Regions from separate parts of the Homo sapiens genome. Here region 2 is linked to region 1. Evidence: promoter capture Hi-C in 16 types of primary human blood cells and fetal thymus (Javierre and others, 2016). All regions are on one chromosome and are shown on one strand. The core of a region is centred on a gene start or on the middle of the fragment in contact, and the rest is flanking DNA. Distances in the headings are between cores, read along the strand shown.

Region 1 (5,316 bases), core at 1,420-3,919:
TATTTCCCAGAATGTCTGGAAGAGGTAAATAAGCGCTTTAGAGGGGAAAGGCATTATCTTTTTGTAATACTGAGCCTCTGGTTATTTTACCTCTCAATGCATGTGCACACCAGGCATGCACACACACAGAATATTAATAGCTGATAAGTATTCAAAGATTACATAGTACCTGAAGGAAGGCAGACCCAGGTTCATAATGACGCAAGAGAACTCTGCAGTGGGGAACCGTGGCTTCTTACTAGACATTGCTTCCCGGATATGCAGCCTCTCAGTTGAGCATGAAAGCCCTGATGCGGTTTGTAAAGTAGGCGGTAGCTGATTGTTTTACTGTGAGATGCTTGTTAACCAGACAGAGAAACTATGAGTTTTCAAAAGCACCCATGATGCCGACTGAGCTAACATGAACTAACAGAGTGTTCTGTTAACTGTTAGGTAAAGAGGTTCTCAGCTTGCCAATGTTAGTCCTTTCTTCCCAAAAAAGTGCAAATAAAAAAAAAAAAGAAATTCAGAGTTGCAAAACTGCTGCCCCATTTAAGTAAATTATAATCTAAGAAAAATCACAAGAGGATCCCACTCACATTTCTGTAAAGTTTCCACTGATCTAAGATGCTTCCAATTACAAAGAAAACGATGCTTCACTAAAGTCAGCATGTTTTCAAAATAAAGATATAATTATGTGAAGCAGAAAATCTAATAAATCACGTACTTTTCCCTCCGTAATTTTAGATTCATGTAATTTAGCTAGATTTATCTTTACATAATAGTCGAGTGAGGTATTTAAATTCTCTAAGCAATTATATTTTAATACAAGTGACTTTTCAAAACAAAAAATGTATTTGTGAAATAGAAAATACAACATTTTATTTAATATAGTTATGTTAGCACCTTTCCCAACCTACAGTGAGTTCTCAGAAGTTACCACTTCGCCCTGTCTCCGGGTTTAGTAGTTTCTCCAATCTAATTGGAACTATTACTTGTTACTTGGAAACTGACGGTCTAGTTAGTCTTCCCACTGAGAAAGAATATTTAATTATTACTGCTTTTTGGGTTTAACAAGCTTTTTGTTGTTGTTGTTGTTGTACTACGCTCCATCCTATTGACTTTTCTTCCCGGGAATCATTGCAATGACTTATTTTATATTACTATATTTTATTTCATATTTTACCTTTTCTCCACGATGCTTAAAAGAAAGGCGCTCCGAAATCTGGCTCTCTGCGCCCAGGGGAACGAGGCACAAATCTCCGCCACTCAGCCCCACTGAGCAGAGACTGCGAGTCCGAACCCTCAAGTTCCTCGGGGCTTTGACCCCTCAATGGCGGCGGTCTAACTGCTGGTAAAACCCCCGGCCCCTGACTGTTCCACCGCCCGTCTCCCAAACGCCCAGCGAAGGCTGACTTAGGTGGCGGGCGGACCTCATCGATTCCTCAAACCACATCGTTTGGTCAAAATCGCCCGCCCTCTCTTCGCTCGGATTTTAAAGGCTAGGCTTGTAAGTCAGTAAGTTAACGGTATTTGGGCCCTGGGCTGCCCTTGTGGGTCAGGGTCACTGATGTCCGCGACACGGACTGGACCGCGCACCACGCCTGCTCCCGGCAGAGGCCCCACCCGGGTGGCTGAGCGCAGCGCACTGGGGCCCCGCGGTCCGAGAGCGGCGGGGAGGAGCGGGCGCTCGCCGAGCGTTCCCCGGGACAGTCCGGCTTGGGGACTCAAGCGGGTCATGGGATGCCGGCGCTGGCCCTCTCCTGAGATCCTCCTGCTCCCCCGCAGGCACGAGTCCCCTCCAAATCGGCTCCCCTCCTACACTCTCGTGACGCGAGGTCGCGGCCAGTGCCCAATATCACCAAAGTCCCGGCCTCAGCCCAGCCCCGGGCAGCCTGGCAGGCTTTCAGGAGCCTCTGCTCCCGGCTCCGGGGGACCCTGCGTACCTGCCCCAGGTCCTCTGGGAATGGGCTCTGGGTGCCAGGCAGGTCCCGGTGCGTGCTGCTCCTAGTGCCCAGGGCCTCGGCAGTGAGACCCCAACCCGACAGCTGGATAAGGGATCAGCGATCCTGTCGCAAACGGACAGCCCCAGCGCGGACCCGGTCTGAGCGCTGATGCTCGCGGGTCCAGGCCAGCCACTCCTCGAGGCGCTCCCTCGGAGAAAGGGCGCAGCGGCCCCAAGCGTGCCCGCTGCAACTAGTGTCCCAGGTTCTCGCCGTAGCCAGCTTCTCCGGGCTACAGCCTCGTCTCCCCGCGTGCACCCCGCCCTGGCCTCGGAGGCTCTGCCCTCCGGCCGCCCCATCGCAGCCCGCCTCAGGCCCCGGCCCCCAGCCGCGCCTCACCTGTGAGAAGCAGACAGCTGAGCAGCGCGCACAGCAGGACCCCGGTGTCCCAGTAGCTGACCATGGTGAGCGCGACGCGGCCTGCTCGCCCGGTGCCCGCGCTCCCCGCGGCCAACGACCCGGCCGCCAGAGTCCGTCCTCTCGTTCGCCGCCGCCGGCCCCGCGCCCTGAGCGCCCGTCTCGCGGCTCCAGCCAGGAGACAACCACTTCCCCGGGTAATCCTCGCCGCCAGGCGCCCGCTGGCCGCTGCACCCGAGCCCCGGAGCCCGCTCCGAGCCGCCGCCGCTGCCGGGGAGGAGCCGAGAGGAGTGTCCGCCTGGCGCGCTCCGAGCCTCCCGCGGACCTCGATGAAGAGCAGCCGAGGGCGGGGGCGATTTATAACCTTTCCCCAGCCCACTTCCTACCCCGGCACCTCCTTCTGGTGACGTCAAGGGGTCCCCCACCCCTCATCCGCCTCCCCACCTACCCTCTTCTTCCTCCCAGGCTCGCTTCCCTGCGGCTACGGAGAGGGGCGGGGGCCGACGAGGGCGGGTGGCCCGGGGCCGAGCGCGCGTGGGGAGGTGCTGGCGACGCGGGCCCGGGAGCGCGGCCCCGGCAGGTTCAGGGTCTTTGCTCCGCGCCCTCTTGCCCTTGCCCCTCCTCCTGCCCATCGCGCTCAGGAAATCCTTGCAGACTCCCTCCACCCGGCTTACTCAGCTCTGGGGGCCGCCCGAAACTGGGGAAGGGACAAGGCTGAAGCTCCGCCGCCTGGCCCTAGGGGCGGAAAGTCCGATCCAAGGGAAGCTGGCCGCGCCTCCGCGACGGTGTTCTTGGCACGGAGGACTGAGGCGCAGTCCGGCTGTCTCCCCTTGCCTGCTCTTCCCGCGCTGTCCCGCCGCTCCTGACCCCTTCAGACTGTCCCGAGAAGTCTAGGAAGGCACCGGAGACCCTCGGCACAAGGCACTGAACCTGGAGCGCCTGAGGGGAACTGACGCTTGCTTGGCACCTTTGGGAAGACTGCGAACCAGCTCAGGTCCCAGGGGAGCGTGTCCGTGTCTTTTTCGGCCGCATTGATGCACCCGCCCAAGTCATTTCCTCAGTCTTCTGCTTCCTAGAAGCAAAACAAGGAATAACATTATGATACCTTTAAAAAGCTGAGGCGTGAAACTGCTCCTGCAACTTGGAAGCGCAGGGCACTTGAACTTTATTCCCTAAATGCTCGAAAAAGAAATCTTTCTGGTGGCAGCTTGCTACTCAAGATGAGTGACTCTGACCACAACCGGCTGAAATTAACTTGAGGCCCTAGATCATTTGCTATGACACTAATTCCACGTTGTTCCTCAATTATGTCTCCATTACCTCAAAGGCTGAAGTCGTCCTGGCTGCACGGAGCAGCCCAGTCTTGTCTCTGTAAATACCGCAGATTTGAAAAATAGTCCTATTGGAACCCGTCAGAGGGATGTAATACAAGGGACTGTGATGGCTCTTGAACGGAGCCAGAGACTCTTCCTGAAGGACTGGACTACCTCCCCGCCTAGGAAGGTTGGGTAACCCAAAGTTGCCACATTTCTGGGCTGCACACCAAGGAGAGGCCCCGGCCACTCCACACAGGAAATGCACGTCTGGGCACCTGGAGCCGCAGGACCTGAGCCACTAACTGTCCCTGGATCCCTTCTGCTTCAGAGGCAAGGAAGACTGCCGGAGTCATTGCTTGCCTGCTGGCTTCACCAGCGCTTTCTGTTTTTCCAGTTCTCCTCACCACTCTTCCTGGCGCCTTTCTCTGCCTCCCGCACCCCTGCCTCCTCTAAAACCCACAGCATCATCCCTCAGAACAGCTGGAAGCGGACAGCTGATCCTTCTCCTTGCTGGTCCCCCAGCCCAGAACACAGCCTGGGACATACGTGCGGAGCCACAGTGTCTGTTGGTCTCACCTGAGAGCTGCTTGTCACTCCCACACCCTCTTTCAAGGAGAAGCTGTCAGCATTGTCCTTCTGCAGCATTCAACAGGGGCCAGGCATTGGGTTAGGGCTGAAAACACTGATGGAGAGCCATCATCTTTGCCTTCTAAAGGGCTTGGACTGTGATAAGAAGGTGGACACTTGAAGTGGCTGCAGGACCGGCATTCCAGTGCTGGAGGGGTGTTTAGTCCTCCATCAGCTCAGAGAAGTAAAGGCACATTTATTGGCAGGGAAAACCCAAGGAGGGCTTCTCAGGAGAGACACACATTTGACTCTGGGGGAAAGTGGTCCATAGTACCATGTACAAAGGTTTAATTTGCTAATACATTTTTTCAAATGCCATTTTGATATTTTTAACTCATAAAGAGACAACACTTTCCAAACCTGCTGCCAGCAATGAATCTACATTGTGTCTGTAAAGCCAGAACAGGTATTTGATGGACAGCTGAAACAATCTTTATAATCTAAGATGCTAATCAATGATATTAACATGTTGCTCAATTATTTAAGGTTAGTAGAGTCACAGTCGAATCTAAGATTTATATTAAAACTATGCTGCAGTAAGGGTGGGCTTCCACATTTCCCAACTACTCTTTTGAAAAGTTGCTTTTAATTAGAGTCAGCAATTTATTGACTATGACTTCTTTGTTAGTTGCATTAGCGTTCTCACAAAGAACTCAAAAATGCTACAAATTTTAGCTTAGATATGGGGAATAAATGTATAGCTCCCAATCCTCTCCCCAAAAGAGATAATACCTTTGAATGAGAATGGGCTATAGCACTCTCCTAACTAAATCACTAATGAAAGAGGTTTTATAGATAATACTGATGGAGAAGATGGAATTCAACACGCCTGGTGGGTATAAAAAGCTATTGAAGTAGGCAATCTGCTTGCTTCCTGCTCACATACAAAAGAACATTTCATCTCCTGTTTGGTTAGCAAAACCAGACACTCTCTCTTGTTATCAGCTACAAACATTCTCTTGAGGTTTCTTTCTCACCCCTATTCAGAAGCACACTGTTGCTAAATCCATCAGCTTTAATATTCGAGACTGAAT
Region 2 (5,316 bases), core at 1,330-3,829, 300 kb after region 1:
GAAGCTGGCATTCTTTATTAGGGCAAATCTGCAAACAAGTAAAGAGTTCTTTCCTGTACCAGCCACTCAGTGACTTACTTACTTAAGTCCTGCTTGGTAGCAACCCTGTCCTGGTTCTTCCTTGGTCTCATTAGTAGGCACCTTGCCATCAGCCAGTAGGTTATCAAGACATTTATTCTCACTTCAACATTTGAGTGTTTACACATACTAGCAGTGGTTCTAGGAGCTGCAGATAGTCATGAACAAAAAAACTCCCCCACAAATCCTGCTCCCATGGACAGTCTATTATTAGTAGTAGTAGTATTTTTGTAGAGGCAAGATCTTGCTATGTTGACCAGGCTGATCTGGAACTCCTGGCCTCAAGCGATCCTCTTGCCTTGGCCTCCCAAAATGCTGGGATTACAGGCATGAGCTAAGGTGCCTTGCCAGACTGTCCAGTCAGAGCAGATAGACCAAAAGCAATCAAATAAATACACAAGACATCAGGAACGGATGATATGCGATATGAGGAAAAATAAAGCTGGTTAAAGGGTGAGATGTGCCTGGAGGGGGTTGCTATTTTAGCTGGAGAAAGCGTCCCTGATCTGAATGAAGGGAAGGAGGGGTCCTCATAGTCTCTGGGAAGGAGCAGTCCAGGGAAGCACACAGTTAAGGGCCCTATGGGAGAGCAAGCTTGGGTGTTCCAGGAACGTGGTGGAGATCAATATAGCCAGAGCCAGCAGGCAGAGAGGAGATTCTGTTCCTGATGGTAGTGAGCATCCCGGGGTGTAACAACCCCTTCTCTTCCAGGAACTAGAAAGCAGGCAGGTGACAGCACAGTCTGGGCTTAGGTGTACCAGCTGGTTGGCGTTGGTTAGGCTCAGAGAGTAACCAACCCTCTGGACAGGTGTGTGGCGAGGTACGCCGGCAGGGCCCCACGCTCTTAGGGGCCCCCCAACTTGGGCTTCAAGGCTCCATGGACACCATCTTGAAATTCTCAACACAGTTATCCTTCCTTTTGTTCTGTAAGTGAAGTCCGGGACAATGGGGCTTGTTCCCCAGGGCCTGGAGGCTCGGCTCCTGTGCGGTCCTGCCTCCTGCCTCCTCCCCACCTCGCGGACTTGGGTCTGGGTCACCTGTTCCTGCTCCTGCTCCTGCTCAGAACTGCTGCTGCCCTTCATCCTGAGAGGCCCGACACGGTGCCCCTGCCGCCCTCCACCAGACGGGCAGGGCAGGGTGGGGGCAGGGCCAGGCATGACCCTCTGCACGCCTAACCACAGGGCGGGCCCTTGGTGCCCTAAGGGTCTGTCCCCAGCCTGCCAGCATCTCTGTGCGTGAGGGAGTGTGACATTAAATAGCAAACAAAACATCTGGACAGGTCAACTGAGAGAGACTGCAGAAGAAACGCTTTTTTTCTCTTTTTTAACAAGGGACCCGCATTTCCATTTTATGCTTGTCCCTGGGTGATCTTCTTGACCAGGAATGATGTCACCCACCCCTTGGCCGCCGCTTTCTCTCCGTGGACCTCCGGTGAAGTTGGCTTTTTTTTTTTTTTTTTTTGAGACGGAGTCTCCCTCTGTCGCCCAGGCTAGAGCGCAGTGGCGCGATCTCGGCTCACTGCAAGCTCCGCCTCCCGGGTTCACGCCATTCTCCTGCCTCAGCCTCCCGAGTAGCTGGGAAGATGGCTTTTAAAGCGGGTGAACACTCTTGCACTTTCCCGTGGGGGCTGTTGCCCTCTGCTGGGCAAACCAGGAATTAGCTCTACCTCAAAATCTGTGAAGAAAATGCTCCCTATTCCAGTTTCAAAACCCAATTTGAGACAATGGTTTGAGCATCAGTTTTCTCCATCTGCACTTTTGAAGGCTGCTGCAGATTTGAATAGCCAGTTCTAAAGTGAATTACCTTGTAAGCAGGTGACTTTTGCTTAAAACCAAGCAGTCACAAACTTTAGTATCCAGATCTACCATGTAAAGTACAGCAGAAACACAACATGTTGAGCAGTTGGTTCCACTGTTGAATTGTGCCATCATATAACCTTGCTTACTGTGTGTGAAGTATTCTTCATAATCTTTAAAAGTTATTGGAATGGGCCTACACCTTAATGGTACTTTTGTTCAGGGCTTAAATAATGTAATCAGGCCAGGTGCGGTGGCTCACGCCTGTAATCCCAACACTTTGGGAGGCTGAGGCGGGCGGATCACGAGGTCAGGAGATCGAGACCATCCTGGCTAACACGGTGAAACACCGTCTCTACTAAAAATACAAAAAAATTAGCCAGGCGTGGTGGTGGGCGCCTGTAGTCCCAGCTACTCGGGAGGCTGAGGCAGGAGAATGGCATGAGCCCGGGAGGCGGAGCTTGCAGTGAGCCAAGACAGCACCACTGCACTCCAGCCTTGTCGACAGAGTGAGACTCTGTCTCAAAAAAAAAAAAAAAAAAAATGTAATCACTCCCATTTCCAAGTTCTCAACATGTGGTGACTTTTAATTTTATTGGACATAGGGAGAATTACCTGAGAAATAGTACTTTAATGATTTTAAGGCATAAAGAATTTTATATTTAACCATTAAATCACGGACTCTATGATAACCTTTCTTTTCTGGCAATGATGGTACCAAAACCATAGGAAAATACTCTGTTAAACCTGGTGGACTTTTGCTGTCTTTTCCCTATTTCACTCTGTGTGTGTGTGTGTGTGTGTGTGTGTGTGTGTGTGTGAGAGAGAGAGAGAGAGAGAGAGAGAGAGAAATTGTAAAGCATAAGTAAAAACTGAAAGATGGCCAGGCAGTGGCTCATGCCTGTGATCCCAGCATTTTGGGAGGCTGAGGCAAGTGGATGACTTGAACCTCTGGAGTTTGAGACCAGCCTGGGAAACATGGTGAAACTCCATCTCTACAAAAAAATACAAAAATTAGCTGGGCATGGTAGTGTGTGCCTGTAGTCCCAACTACTCAGGAGGGTGAGTGGGAGGATCACCTGAGCCCACTGAGATTAAGGCTGCAGTGAGCTGTGATTGTGCCACTGCACTGCAGCCTGGGCAACACAGGGAGACCCTGCCTAAAAAAAACTGATGAAAGATGAGCTTCCTCTGTGTATAAGCACAGGAGTGTGATTTACACCACGGAAGTCCCTGTCTAGACTCTACTGTGTGCTAAGCACAGTGGCATGCGCTTCATACATTTTGTCTCATTTAGCAACATTGCAAGGCAGATATTGTATTTCCCGTAGAAAACTGACAATCAGTGAATTTAAATAATGTGCCCTAGGTTGTTAAGCTAGAAACTGATATTTTGCCCTCAATGCCAGATCCACCTGACTCCAAAAACCCCTGTTTTTCCACTGTGCAATGTGGTTGCCTAATGAATGATTCTAACCCTGGTTAGTTTTGTAGAGAACTAAAGCCCTAAGCAGGTGTTCAGGGGAAGAGCTGGACTTGGACTCCATGTTTCCTACCCTAATCCAATTTATTAAATTGCTAGAATAACTTAGCTTTAGGAAGTGGGGATGATCCTTTAAAATTCCCCCTTTCTTATCTCCTATGTGGTGTTTGGGTCCTCCAAAAATTATCTAGATTGAGAGATATAAAAGAATGACCATTTTGGCCAGGAGTGGTGACTCACGCCTGTAATCCCAGCACTTTGGGAGGCCAAGGCAGGCGGATTGCTTGAGCCCAGGAGTTCAAGACCAGCCTGGGCAACAGGGCGAAACCCTGTCTCTACCAAAAATACAAAAGTCAGCCAAGTGTGGTGGTGGGTGCCTGTAATTCCAGCTACTCGGGAGGCTAAGGAAGGAGAATCACTTGAACCTGGGAGGTGGAGGTTGCAGTGAGCCAAGATCACACCACTGCACTTCAGCCTGGGCTACAGAGCAAGACTCTCTCTCAGAAAAAAAAAAAAAAAAAAAAGAATGACCATGTCAACAACAGTTGAAGTGGATTATATATTGATCTTGGTCTAACTGTTCTGGAGAACAGAAGCTAAGCAAATAGGCCACCCACTTTAACATCAACCAGTGTAACCATCCAATGAGTTGATCAATCAGCCAATATTTATTGAGCATCTCCTATGTGATAAGGACCAAGATAGGTATTAGACAACTGGAAATAAATAAGGCATGAGGTCAGCCAAAGGGGACGAACAAACATGTAAACAAAAGTACATTGCAATGCAAGTTCTACACACACACAGCTACGGGACTACAGAAGGAAGAGCAACAGATTCCACCTGGGAGAATGGGGGAAGGCTCCCCTGACGGACACTCACCCATGCCAGCATACCTTCAATATGGAGAAGCCATTTGCATGACATGTTTCTAGTTCTTTTAACAACAAAGTGTATATTCTTCCATTCCAGATTGTACAGGCAAGAGATTTCATAAGATAATCTAGAAACTGGAAATAGTAAATTTTTTTGAAAGCAGCTTCATTATTTTGGCTAATAAGTAACAGAGATGTGAATTACTATGAGGTTCTAGTAAATTTAGATTCTCTAGAGAAATTGGGCAGCAAATGAAAGCTTAATTTCAACTTGGTTAAACACAATGTAATTGGAATAGTTGCACTTTGGGAGGCTGAGGCGGGCAGATCACGAGGTCAGGAGATTGAGACCATCCTGGCTAACATGGTGAAACCCCGTCTCTACTAAAAATATAAAAAAATTAGCCCGGCGTGGTGGCAGGCACCTGTAGTCCCAGCTACTCGGGAGGCTGAGGCAGGAGAATGGCGTGAACCCGGGCGGCAGAGATTGCAGTGAGCCAAGACTGAGCCACTGCACTCCAGCCTGGGCGACAGAGCGAGACTCCATCACCAAAAAAAAAAAAAAAAAAAAAAAAAAAAAAAAAAAAAAAAAAAAAAAAAGAATTGGCATGCTAATTTAATTAAAAACTTAAGCCAGGTGCAGCGGCTCATGCCTGTAATCCCAACACTTTGGGAAGCTGAGGCAGGAGGATCACTTGACCCCAGGAGTTCAAGACCAGCCTGGGCAACAAAGTGAGACACTGTCTCTACAAAATAATAATAATAATAATAATAAATTAGCTGGGCATGAAGTCTGCTGGTTACACTGGAGGCTGAAGTGGGAGGATCACTTGAGCTCAGGAGTTCAAGGCTACAGTGAGCTGTGATTATTCCACTGCACTCCAGCCTGGGTAACAGAGCAAGACCTTGTCTAAAGAAAAAAAAAAGAAAAAAGAAAAAAATGAAAACAAACATGTCAGTTAAAACGGCAACTACTTGTATAATCTTAATGAGTTTTCAATTTAAACATTTTCCAATTAGAAATAGGATTAATTTTAGGGCTTTCATATGTATTATATTTTGAAGACTTCTTTAAAAATGACAT

What was found. Contacts are between HindIII fragments. The CHiCAGO score rates a contact against its expected background, and 5 or more counts as called.
Region 2: a fragment that was not itself captured here is called in contact with the fragment with the promoter of FLT1 in region 1 in 1 of 17 cell types (M2 macrophages); the score reaches 5.6 in M2 macrophages.

The regions. Positions count from the first base shown.
Region 1 is chr13:28,492,459-28,497,774 of GRCh38, forward strand. It overlaps FLT1 (fms related receptor tyrosine kinase 1), which reads right to left and starts at 2,670. Exons shown (of 30, transcript NM_002019.4): 1 at 2,322-2,670. The coding sequence starts at 2,385. RefSeq lists silencers at 2,156-2,205, 2,286-2,405, 2,526-2,575. The HindIII fragment of the contact is 4,512 bases long and covers 1,056-5,316 here.
Region 2 is chr13:28,795,125-28,800,440 of GRCh38, forward strand. No RefSeq gene overlaps it. Among named protein-coding and RNA genes, the nearest start is that of MTUS2, 23 kb to the right of the region's middle. The HindIII fragment of the contact is 3,819 bases long and covers 671-4,489 here.